Regions from separate parts of the Homo sapiens genome. Here regions 1 and 2 are each linked to region 3. The links are contacts of gene promoters, found by promoter capture Hi-C in human tissues and cell types (Jung and others, 2019). All regions are on one chromosome and are shown on one strand. The core of a region is centred on a gene start or on the middle of the fragment in contact, and the rest is flanking DNA. Distances in the headings are between cores, read along the strand shown. Region 1 overlaps LINC00163 (long intergenic non-protein coding RNA 163). Region 2 overlaps ADARB1 (adenosine deaminase RNA specific B1). Region 3 holds the start of ADARB1 (adenosine deaminase RNA specific B1).

What was found. The method cuts DNA at HindIII sites, captures the fragments that hold promoters and counts their contacts. A contact is called where the count stands out against the background at its distance.
Region 1: a fragment that was not itself captured here is called in contact with the fragment with the promoter of ADARB1 in region 3 in 3 of the 25 tissues and cell types used here (H1 embryonic stem cells, IMR-90 fibroblasts and bladder).
Region 2: a fragment that was not itself captured here is called in contact with the fragment with the promoter of ADARB1 in region 3 in 3 of the 25 tissues and cell types used here (IMR-90 fibroblasts, spleen and thymus).

Annotation. Positions count from the first base shown.
Region 1 is chr21:44,990,526-44,993,796 of GRCh38, forward strand. LINC00163 (long intergenic non-protein coding RNA 163) reads right to left here. Exons shown (of 2, transcript NR_033840.1): 2 at 1-1,310. Among named protein-coding and RNA genes, the nearest start is that of LINC00163, 1.9 kb to the right of the region's middle. The HindIII fragment of the contact is 4,237 bases long and covers 1-3,271 here.
Region 2 is chr21:45,151,700-45,155,188 of GRCh38, forward strand. The region is part of intron 2 of ADARB1 (adenosine deaminase RNA specific B1); the gene reads left to right. Among named protein-coding and RNA genes, the nearest start is that of ADARB1, 79 kb to the left of the region's middle. RefSeq lists an enhancer at 1-510. The HindIII fragment of the contact is 4,613 bases long and covers 1-3,489 here.
Region 3 is chr21:45,072,681-45,076,016 of GRCh38, forward strand. It overlaps ADARB1 (adenosine deaminase RNA specific B1), which reads left to right and starts at 1,900. Exons shown (of 11, transcript NM_001112.4): 1 at 1,900-2,113. LOC105372836 (a long non-coding RNA gene) reads right to left here and starts at 1,061. Exons shown (of 5, transcript XR_937796.3): 1 at 793-1,061. It also overlaps the pseudogene SSR4P1. RefSeq lists silencers at 1,544-1,633, 1,654-1,853. The HindIII fragment of the contact is 7,799 bases long and covers 1-3,336 here.

The DNA.
Region 1 (3,271 bases), core at 564-3,063, 82 kb before region 3:
GTCACACTGGCACTCGCTGTCTGTGTCACGCATTCGCATCCACTGTCAGCGCGTCACAGTGGCGTTCGCGGTGAGGATGGGGCGTTGCCGTTGGCCGGTGTCTCAGCGCACTGGCTGTCGGGCTGGTCCCCCTGGGTTCGCTGCTGGCGTGCTTGTTCTCCGAGCACTCGCCGTTCACGTCCTCTCCGTTCCACACTGGCCTTTGCTATTTTCTCCACGCGGGTCTTATGGATGCTGTCCGAGCTGTGGAGCATCTGCCCTCCTGGCCCTCCTGCAGCTCGGGCTGTGCTCTGGATGAGCGAGGGCAACGTTAGCTGAGCGTGGGGGGCCTTGAGGTCTCTGCTGCACTTTCCCGAAGGCTGAGGTCCCTGGGGACCACTGAGCCGCCCCATGGGCCTTCCACAGCACTGCCGGTGCCAGAGGGCAGAACTCGGACCGACTCTTGCCTCATCTGCCCTCTGTTCCGAGGAGAACCCTTCCGGACTGGGCCACAGGGAGTCCAGCCGAGGTTCGGAGGGTGGTCAGGGGTCTGGCTGCCCCAAGGGGGTGCTTCTCAGAGCTTTGGGAAGACACCGGAGCCCAAGGGTCTGGATGGCCGTGGCTGAGCTGGGTCTGAGAGGCCAAGACCAGGAGGGCATCACATGCACCCGTGTCAGGGCCAGCTGGGATGGGAGACTGAGGCCGGGGCGGGTGTCCGGGTGCCCCCCACAGCTGTGCTGGGGCAAGTCTGGGGACACCACCTCCTCAGCCCTGTCCAGGAGTGTGGACCCCAGGCATCAACTGTCCAGGGGCCTGTCCAGGAGTGTGGACCCCAGGCATCAACTGACCAGAGCCCTGTCCAGGAGTGTGGACCCCAGGCATCAACTGACCAGAGCCCTGTCCAGGAGTGTGGACCCCAGGAATCAACTGTCCGGGGGCCTGTCCAGGAGTGTGGACCCCAGGCATCAACTGTCCAGAGCCCTGTCCAGGAGTGTGGACCCCAGGCATCAACTGTCCAGGGGCCTGGGGCATCCATGGGCCACACGGCAGCGCTGAAAACACAGGGCCCTTGCACCCAGGGCAGACCTCAGCACAGTTGGAGACATCACTCCTGCCCTCCTTGCGCTCGGCCCGAGAGCTAGAGCTTGCTCAGCTCAGCCCCAGGAGGAAGCAGAACCGCAGCCTCCAGAACATTGGGGTGACCCCGTCGCTGAGGGTCCCCTGGCCCAAGGCCAGCGTGTGTCTTCCGGGGGAGGAATGACCTCTGGAGCCGCCATCCCCAGCCTCGGCAGCAGGGGCTCCAGGGTCCGGGAGCCAAAACTCAGCAGCTGCTGGGTGTGCAGGGAAAGTTGTTTAGATAAAATCCAAACAAGCACCTCATATATTACAGGAGGCTGTAAAACAAACTTAGCCTTGTGCTAATATTTTGGTTTGGTTTCCACTATCCACACCTAGAAGAATGTGAGCGCCATCCCAGCCCGGCGGTCAGTAACATTCCAGGAGCTTTGGGGAGCGTCTCCATTGCCAGTCAAGAGCCAGGCGCCACGCACCCCAGTCCGGAGGGACCGCTCAGCCTCGGGCTAAAAAAGGGAGAGAGCGCAAGCAGATGGCGTCCACAGCCGCGTCTCCAGGCCACAGCGGGCACCTGCAGGGCAGCTGGGAATGGGAAGGGCAGAGGCGGCCAGAAGCTCGTGCCCTCACTGATGCCGGCCCTGGCAGTTCTTTCCAAAAATCTTCCCACTCAGCTCCCTGAGTCCCACGGATCAGGCGCCCTTAGCCTGCTGTGCAGGGGGTGGGGGAGACTGAGGCACAGAAGGCCGGGCCCCCCAGGCACCAAGCACGGCCCATGACCCAGAGCCATGGAGTCACCCAGGCCGCACAGCTGGTGAGAGCAGCCCTAGATGAGGCGGAGCCACTGGGTTCAAGGCCAGAGTTCCTGCTGCACCCCCGACCCCTGGTCCCGCCATGGAAGGTGCCAGGAGTCATGTTCCCTGGGCTCCTCTTCCCCCAAAAGCCCCTCCTCATGTATGCATGAGTGTGTGTGTGTGTGTGAGAGTGTGTGTGTGCACGTTTCCCTGCCTGAGCACTGAGCACACCTCCGCACAGGCAACTGCTGCCACCACCTCATGGTCTCCCAGTAGCCACTATGAGGAGGGCAGAGGCCACCGCCTCTAGCCCAGCAGGACGAGGGCCTCGTGACCCGTGGGGGGAGCAGAGCAGGGTCTGTGTGCCTCGTGACCCCTGGGGGGTGGGCAGAGCAGGGTCTGTGTGCCTCGTGACCCCTGGGGGGTGGGCAGAGCAGGGTCTGTGTGCAGGGTTCCTTGCCAGGCACGTGGCCAGCACTGCAGGAGCTGGCATTGTGGTGGCTCGGACGCCCTGACCCCGTGTTGATGTTTTTGGTGCAGCCCTGCCCGCGTGGCCTTAGGGTGACCCATGTGACCACAGCCCATGGCGGGCACAGCACAAGGGAGGCCACTTCCAGGCCTAGGGGGTTAGACTGTGGCTTCTGGCACCTGGAGGAGACTTGGCAGCCTGGGGGTGCCACATGGTCAGGGGCTGAGGCCTCCCCACAGCCCCGTGAGCCCCGTCCTGGACAAGGGGCTGCCCGTGGCTGCCACCTGAGCCACAGCCACCAGCCATGCTGCCCCTGAAACGGGGGAGCTAACACGTGGAGGCATTTTTAAGCTGCTACGTTTTGGGGTATTTGCTACACGGCTATAGATGTCTGATACGCTGTGGGGTATGCCCTGAATGTGGGGTCTGGTTGGCCCTAGGCTAGCATCAAGCTTTGGGCAGCCAGGGCCCCAAAGCCCCCACTCCTGCCCACTGTGGCCACGCGCCTGCAGGACCAGTCCCGCCGCTGTGTGGGCCTCGCCTCTGGACACAGGCCCCAGGACCCCCGAACTGAGGCTGGCCTGGCTCCACGTCCTCCCGCCCACTCCCGTTCAGCGCTGCCAGGCACCGTACCCTCTGCTGCCCACCAGGACCCGGCTCCTGGCAGGCCTGAGCCTCCTCCCCATCTCCCTTCACCCTCCCTGAGCACCCCCCGGGCCCATGGGCCCAGCCTGCTGAGGGTGACTTCTTCACACCCAGGCTCTTGGCCCAGCCTCCTCACCCCTGTCCCTGGGACTTCCTCCTGGCCACACCATCCTTCCAGCAGTGCTCCCAACACACATGGCCATCCCTGGGGAGTCTTCCAGGCAGCCCTACCCACCATCTCCACCCACCTCCTTCCCACCTGCTCACCACGAGGTCCTGTTCCCAGCATACGGCCCTGCTGCTGGCTGGGGAG
Region 2 (3,489 bases), core at 597-3,096, 79 kb after region 3:
GCTTTGCCAGCCCTGAATGCTGGATCCCGAGTGGCAGAGGCACCAAGTGCTGTATGATGTGTGTATGTGATGTGTGTGCATGTACATGTGTGTGATGTGTGTCCCTGCTCGCCCCAGGCTGGCCATGGTACTGTGCTAGTCACAGACTGGCTGTGCTGATCAAGCCAGGCACAGTGGAAAATGGGAAGATGTTGGCGTTTGCCCCTCCCTTGGCTGTGTGTCATTCACCTGGGGCATGAGCTGTGCCCCTGCTCTGCAGTAATGAACAAGGCAGGTCAGCATTGGTCCGAGACACGTGAGTTAAGAGAGGAGGAAGAGCACTCTCTGGGGGCGGGGGGATCCATTTGTCAGTGGCCTGCAGTTTCCTGTCCCAGGGATTTCACTGGTGACATCCTGACCACTCACCTGCACTTTATATGGAGCTGTTTTCATCAGCTGGCGTCTGCTGAGCCTCTGCATTGTGTTGTGTGGTAGCCTGTTACTTTTTGCAGTTTTATTTTCTAAACTGTACTCTTTTATTGATAGATTTTTTGTATTAGGATTTCCATTTAAACAGGACTTTGGTACGTCTGCTGTGGGAGATTTGTTTCCCTAGAAGATTCACGGCTGTCGTTCTCTCCCCTCTGCTCGTGGTGTTTTACTGTGACTGCGCTGAACGGTTAGCTGTCACATGTCATTCTCTGGGTGGTGTGCTCTGAAGTCATTGTGGTGTGTGGGCCCCTTCAGCCTAGTTCTGCCTAACTGCGGCATGATGAATGGGCCCGAGGCAGAGGAGGAGGCTCCCTCGTCGGTAGGGGCTGCTGTTGTCGCAGCTGCCGGCACACGGAAGTGAGTCGGTGTGCTGCTGCCCCGAGTGACTGAGGGACAGAATGAGGCTGGGGCCGGCCGGACTGGCATTGGCGTGTCTGCATGGCGTCGTCCACCACTGGGCCTTTGCACATGGGGACCTTTTTCAGCATCATGGGGCGTCGGTATAAAAGGAGGCGCAAGAAGCGCTCTGAGAGGAAAGGTAATTCATTTAGTTTTTATTCTTCAGTGTGAAGCATTTGTCTTTAATGCAATACAGAAGTGTTTTCTGGGATAGACGGCTTTGTGAATTAATCTTGCTGATGCCAGTTACTTCCTATTTTCCCTTTTTGAGTGCCTTTTTTGTTGTTGGCATTTTATAGAATTTTAGATAGGGGCACTTAAAAAGGAAGATTCAAAAACATGTCTGTAAACATGAATAGAAATCATTTAGCTTCAGAGTCTGGAGTATGTCTTTGGAAAGATATTTATAAAACTTTAAAGTTTGTAGCTTTGAGCTACAGAAAAGGTTTTTCTCCCAGAGACAGATGCTTATATGAGATTTCCTTTGCCGCACTCTTCATTAATGACTTTTCTACATTAAAACTGTTCTTCATGCTGCAGAAAGCAAGGCTGAGCAACCATTGTGAAAATATTTCCCCTTTAAAAGAATGGAGAGCAAATTCCTTACATTCTGCACTCCAGGTTAATACCAGTTTTTAATTCAACTTAATGTTTTAAGTCATTAAAATCTAGATTTTTTTTCTCAAAACCAGATTCAAAAGTTGTCCATGACTATACACATCACAAGCTACTGGTTTTTGGACCTAAATTGCTGCTTTAAAAGCTGTTGATGTTTTTTTTTTCTCTTTGTATAATATGAAATAATTAATAGAAAATGCCTTAGTGAAAAGATGTGTCTAGCCCGGAGAACAGCTGAACACAGGCGTGATCAGTGCCTCTGCCTCTGTGTCTTCTGGGCGCCCCCTTAGTGTCCCCCACCCGACAGGACTGGAGTACAGCGCTTCACCACCACAGGGCCCTTGGGACATGCTGTGGCAGGAGATGGCTGTTTCTTCAGGAAGTAAAATTAACCTCGGTTTTTTGGTGTGGCTTCCTAAGAAGAAGAACAGATGAATCTCAAAGTCAGCAATCTTGTAATAGTACCTTGTAATATAACAAAGGTGACAGCACCTAATGGAAGTCTGTGTCTGGGAGTGGGGAACCCCTGACCCTGGGCCCTCTGTGCACCGTGCTGCCAGGTGCTTGTGTCCAGGGCTGGGGATGCCACACCCTCGATGCTTTCCTGGACTGACGGGCGGTCTCAGGACAGCCAGTCTGTGCGGCCCCCTCTGCCCTCACCTCAAGAGGTCACAGCATTGGCCTGTTTTTGTTTCCTCAGTTAAGCTTTGGAAATTGAGATGTCACTAAGACAGGCAATAGGGAGTAAAACAAAGGCACAGGCAAAAACTAAAGGACATTTTTACCAAATACCCTCAATTTAGAATTACCACCACTTTTCCCATGGACACTCATCACTAATTATTTAAGTTGGGAAAAATATTGAGAAGTACAAGAATAATTCTGTCATCATTCTTTTGGAATTTACTGTGATTCAAGCTTAAAATGTCTTTTTCATGCATTCCATAATCTCATTCTGCAGTGGGAAAACCACTCTCAAATATGTTGCATTTTCAGACCAAGGTTATAAGAAATTGAGAGGGTTATAAGATGTAACAATGAGGCCCACATATTAAATGGCTTGTGTTCCTTGGTCATTCCTATGTGAGTAAGTTCATTGTGAGTGTTACTAAACAGTATCATGTTATGTGTTAGTTCTCGCTGTTGGTATTTTGTAATAAGCATTATCTTTGAAACTAATAAAAATACCTTTGAAATTATCGATATTATTAAGATTGGCCATCACATTTATACCAAACTGGCAAAGTTTTATAAGATGTAAAATAGTCTTTTATACTGTATATTTCTAAGGTACTGTAAATCATGTGTATTGCATGGTTTTTTCCCTAAGACTGATACAATGTACGCCTTTTAAAATGTAATTCTTTGATGAAAACAATGTAGTAGCAAGTTACGGGTTTTAGTTGGCTTCAGTGGCAATATAATTTCAGTGATTTTTTTCATCACTCCTGGATTATACTTGCAGTTACTGCCTTCCACAGGGCAAATAATTGACTGTTGACTGTGTGTGAGCCTCAGATGGGTTAGCTTAATCATCAGGAAAATAGGGCTAAAGAATAATGTACCATTTAAATACTGGCCAGAGTCCCCATCAAGCAGACACTGCCACCCTGGCAGATGCTGCCAGCACGAGACCTGGGAGAGGTCTGGGAGCCACAGGGCAGGATTCTGAGTAGCAGTTAGTGCCCATATATGGAGCGCTTCCTGCACCCAGCCAGTGCTCAGTGGCTGCTGCTGTAGCCTCATTCACTCACAGCACTGCTGCTAAGTTCATGACCAGTGGGAGGGGAGAGAGATGGGAACAAAGAGGCAGTCCTTCAGTCCCCACCCTCCTGCTGTCTGAATAGCATCCTGTATTTCCAGATGTATTTCTCACTGAGTGTTTTGTTTGTCCCCTATGTGATAACATCCTTATCTGTGCTTAGTCGTGTATGCACATGTGAAGACCACTGTCCTCTGGCAGCAGTTCTGAACTGTGTTTTAGTCTGAGGCTGGGCTCCC
Region 3 (3,336 bases), core at 650-3,149:
ACACCCCATGGAGCCGAGGCAAGCCGTCCCAGCTGAACCGGCTTAAGCTGCAGGCCCACAGAGTCATGAGCAGTGAAGAGAGGTTTTCGCCCTCTGAGGTTTGGGGTGGCCTGTTACACAGAAATACACACAACGTCCTCAGGCACGTATCTCTTTAAGAATGTGTCCCGAGAAGGCGTCCCAGGAGTCTTGATTTTTATTTAGCCGTCCACGGTTGCCCCTTTGGGTGCTTCGCCTTCAGATGGGGTGAAGGGCTCACTTGTTAGCTGGCTGGCCCCAAAGACAGGCTTGTTTTCCACCAGGCAGTGACTGAAGCCGGCAGCCTGCTGCATACCGCGGGCCTTCCCCTGACCTGTCCGGGACTGCGGGCTGGCGGCTGACACCTGCGGAGTGCTTACCGCATACCAGGCTCCCAAACTTCCATCTGTGTTCGTCTTTTAAGTTTTGTTGTTTTCCAGAGTCGGAGTCTCAGTGTTGCCCGGGCCAGAGCGCAGCGGCCATTTATAGGCGCGGACCTCGGCCTCGCACACCACAGCTCCAGCTCTGAGACACAAGCGACCCGCACCCCCCCACCGCCCAGCCCCAGCCTCCAGACTGGCTGAGATCACAGTGTGCGCCACCCCATCCCTGGCTTGCGATGGTCTCTTACTCCCCACTTTACAAGGGAGGAAAGAGGCCGAGGGCAGAGTGGGCCGCCTGAGGTTTGGAGGCCAGGGCTAGTACAACCTCAATTTGACCCTGGAACCTGCCGCTTCCCCCACCCAGGTGCGGGACCCACCCGCTTGTCCACACCTGGCTCTGCCCACCGCCCCCGGCTGCTCCTCTGGGCTCAGGTCGCCGCGGTCAGGAGCTGCCAAGTTTGCCTATCAAACTTTATCTTCGTGCAGAGAACTGCAGCCTGGAGCTGGTTATTCCGGTCAGTGAAAACGTTGCATTTCTACATATGCTTATCATCATCTGTGTAAACATTTCTTGGTATAACTGTGGAACAGTCAGTAAATATAGATAAATCGAAGAGTAGGTCTATTGCATATGCTATAAAAAAATGCTTTTACTATCAACCTAAAACAAACAAACAAACAAAAAAAATCAAACAAAACCACCATCACCTAAACGTTGGTAACTGGAGCAGCTGCTAGTGTCAGTGCGGACTAAACAGGAGACGGCGGGAACCGTGTCCAGCCAGGGTCCTGGGCCGCGACCTGGTTCTCCCGGAGTCTACAGTGAGGATGACGGGCGGGGAGAGGGGGCCGGCGGGACCCGCGTGTCCCAGGCAACTCCGGGAGAGGGAGAAGCAGGGGTGGCTCGGCGGGGGCTCGGCGGGGGCTCGGCGGGGGCTCGGCGGGGGCTCGGCGGGGGCTCGGCGGGGGCTCGGCGGGGGCAGCGCCCGCTGCAGGGAGGAGCGCGGGGGCCCGGGAGCCTGGGCAGCACCGCGAGACGCCACCTCCGCAAAACGCAAACGCCAATCGCCGGGCGCCTGCGGTCCCAGCTACCAGGGAGGCTGAGGCGGCAGGATCGCGTGAGCTCGGAGGTCCACCGCGCTCCAGTCTGGGCGACAGTGAGACCCCGTCCCCAAAACGAAGGCGGGCAGAGTCTCCTCAGCCGCGCTCGGGCGGGCGGCGCCGCGACGCCAGGCCGGTCCCGCGCTCTCGCCCCACGCTCCGGAGCCGCCCAGCCGCGGTCTCTCAGCTCCGGCCGCGCTCCAGCCCCAACGGCCCCGCGCCCGTCCGCCGCAGGTGGTCGTGAGGGAGGTGCCACAGCTCCGGCTGCCCACGACAGACACGGGCGCCCCAGCGCGCGCACGTCCGGCGTCGCTGCGCCGCCCCCGCCCCCTCGGCGTGCGCGCGCCCGGCGGGCCGGCGGGGGCGGGGAGGGGGCGGAGCCGCCGGCGGCGGGGCTGAGGCGCTGAGGCGGCCGTGGCGGCGGCGGCGGCGGCGGCGGCAGCGGCGGCCAAGCGGCCAGGTTGGCGGCCGGGGCTCCGGGCCGCGCGAGGCCACGGCCACGCCGCGCCGCTGCGCACAACCAACGAGGCAGAGCGCCGCCCGGCGCGAGACTGCGGCCGAAGCGTGGGGCGCGCGTGCGGAGGACCAGGCGCGGCGCGGCTGCGGCTGAGGTGAGGGCGGCGCGGGGCCGCGGCGGCTCGGGCGGGCGCGGGCTCCGGACCCCGCGGTGGCGGCGTTTATGTAAGCGCCGGGCAGGGACTGGTGGTGGGGCCGGAGCTGCGGGCCGTCCCGGGAGCGGAGGGCGCCCGCGGAGAAGCGAGGGTGCCGCGGCACCGCCTCGCACCCACCCTCCTGGGTCGCCCGTCTGCTCCGGCGCTCGGCTCCCGGAGGAAGCTGCGCCCGGGCGGCCCCGCGTCCCCTCCCGAGGGCGCCGAGTCCGCGTGGGATGCGCCGCGCTGCGCCGCGGGGAGGGCAGGTGCGCCGGGACGAGGCTGCGCCCTGGGGACCGAGACTGCGTTTTGGGGAGGGGACGGTGTGCCCTGGAGATCGGAGGCTGCGCTGGGGACGAGGCTGCGCCCGGGGACCAGAGGCTGCCCCGGGTACAAGGTTGCGCCGGGGAACGGGAGGCTGCGTTGGCAACAAGGCTGCGCCTGGGGACGGTAGGCTATGTCCCTGGGGAGACGCTCCGCCCGGCATGGGACGCTGCGCCGGGGGACGGCAGGCTGCGCCCGGGATGAGGCTGGGCCCGGGCAGGGGAGGCTGCCTTGGGAGGGGACGCTGTGCCACGGGAGTGGAGACTGCGTTGGGGACGAGTCTGCGCCCTGGACGGTCCTGCGTGTCCTTCCGAGGGCGCAGTGTCCGCGCGGGATGCTCTGCGCCGCGGGCGGCCCGGGCCAGGGAAGTTCCTGCGGGTGCCGGGCGTCTGCAGCGATCGGGAGCAATCTGGGGCAGTTGGGGGCCCGAGGTGACTTTTGACGTGTTCACATCAGAAGGAAAATTATTGCGTGGTGGATGGGTGCGAGGGAAGGTGTCAGATTGGGCTGTGGACGCTGAAACGTGTTGGAGTCCCGATTTACACGCTGGAAAACCTAACCTAAAACGTGTTCCTGTCCAGGTTTCTATGTCGGAGATCTGCACCGTGGTGTTTAGTTCCCAGTTAATATTTTTGGTCAGCAGGTTTGGGCTGTTACTTCTGATACAGGCATTTTACTTCCTTCTTACTAACCATTATTGCATTCCGTTCTCGAAGTATAACGAAAAGTGGCATGATATCAAACTTGTTTCTTTAACGTTTAACTCCATAATTAAGATGATAGAACCGTAGTTTTTTTAATTGAGAATACAAATATGTATTTAATCCTCTTTGTTTCCTCTTAAATTTTGCCGTATGTTT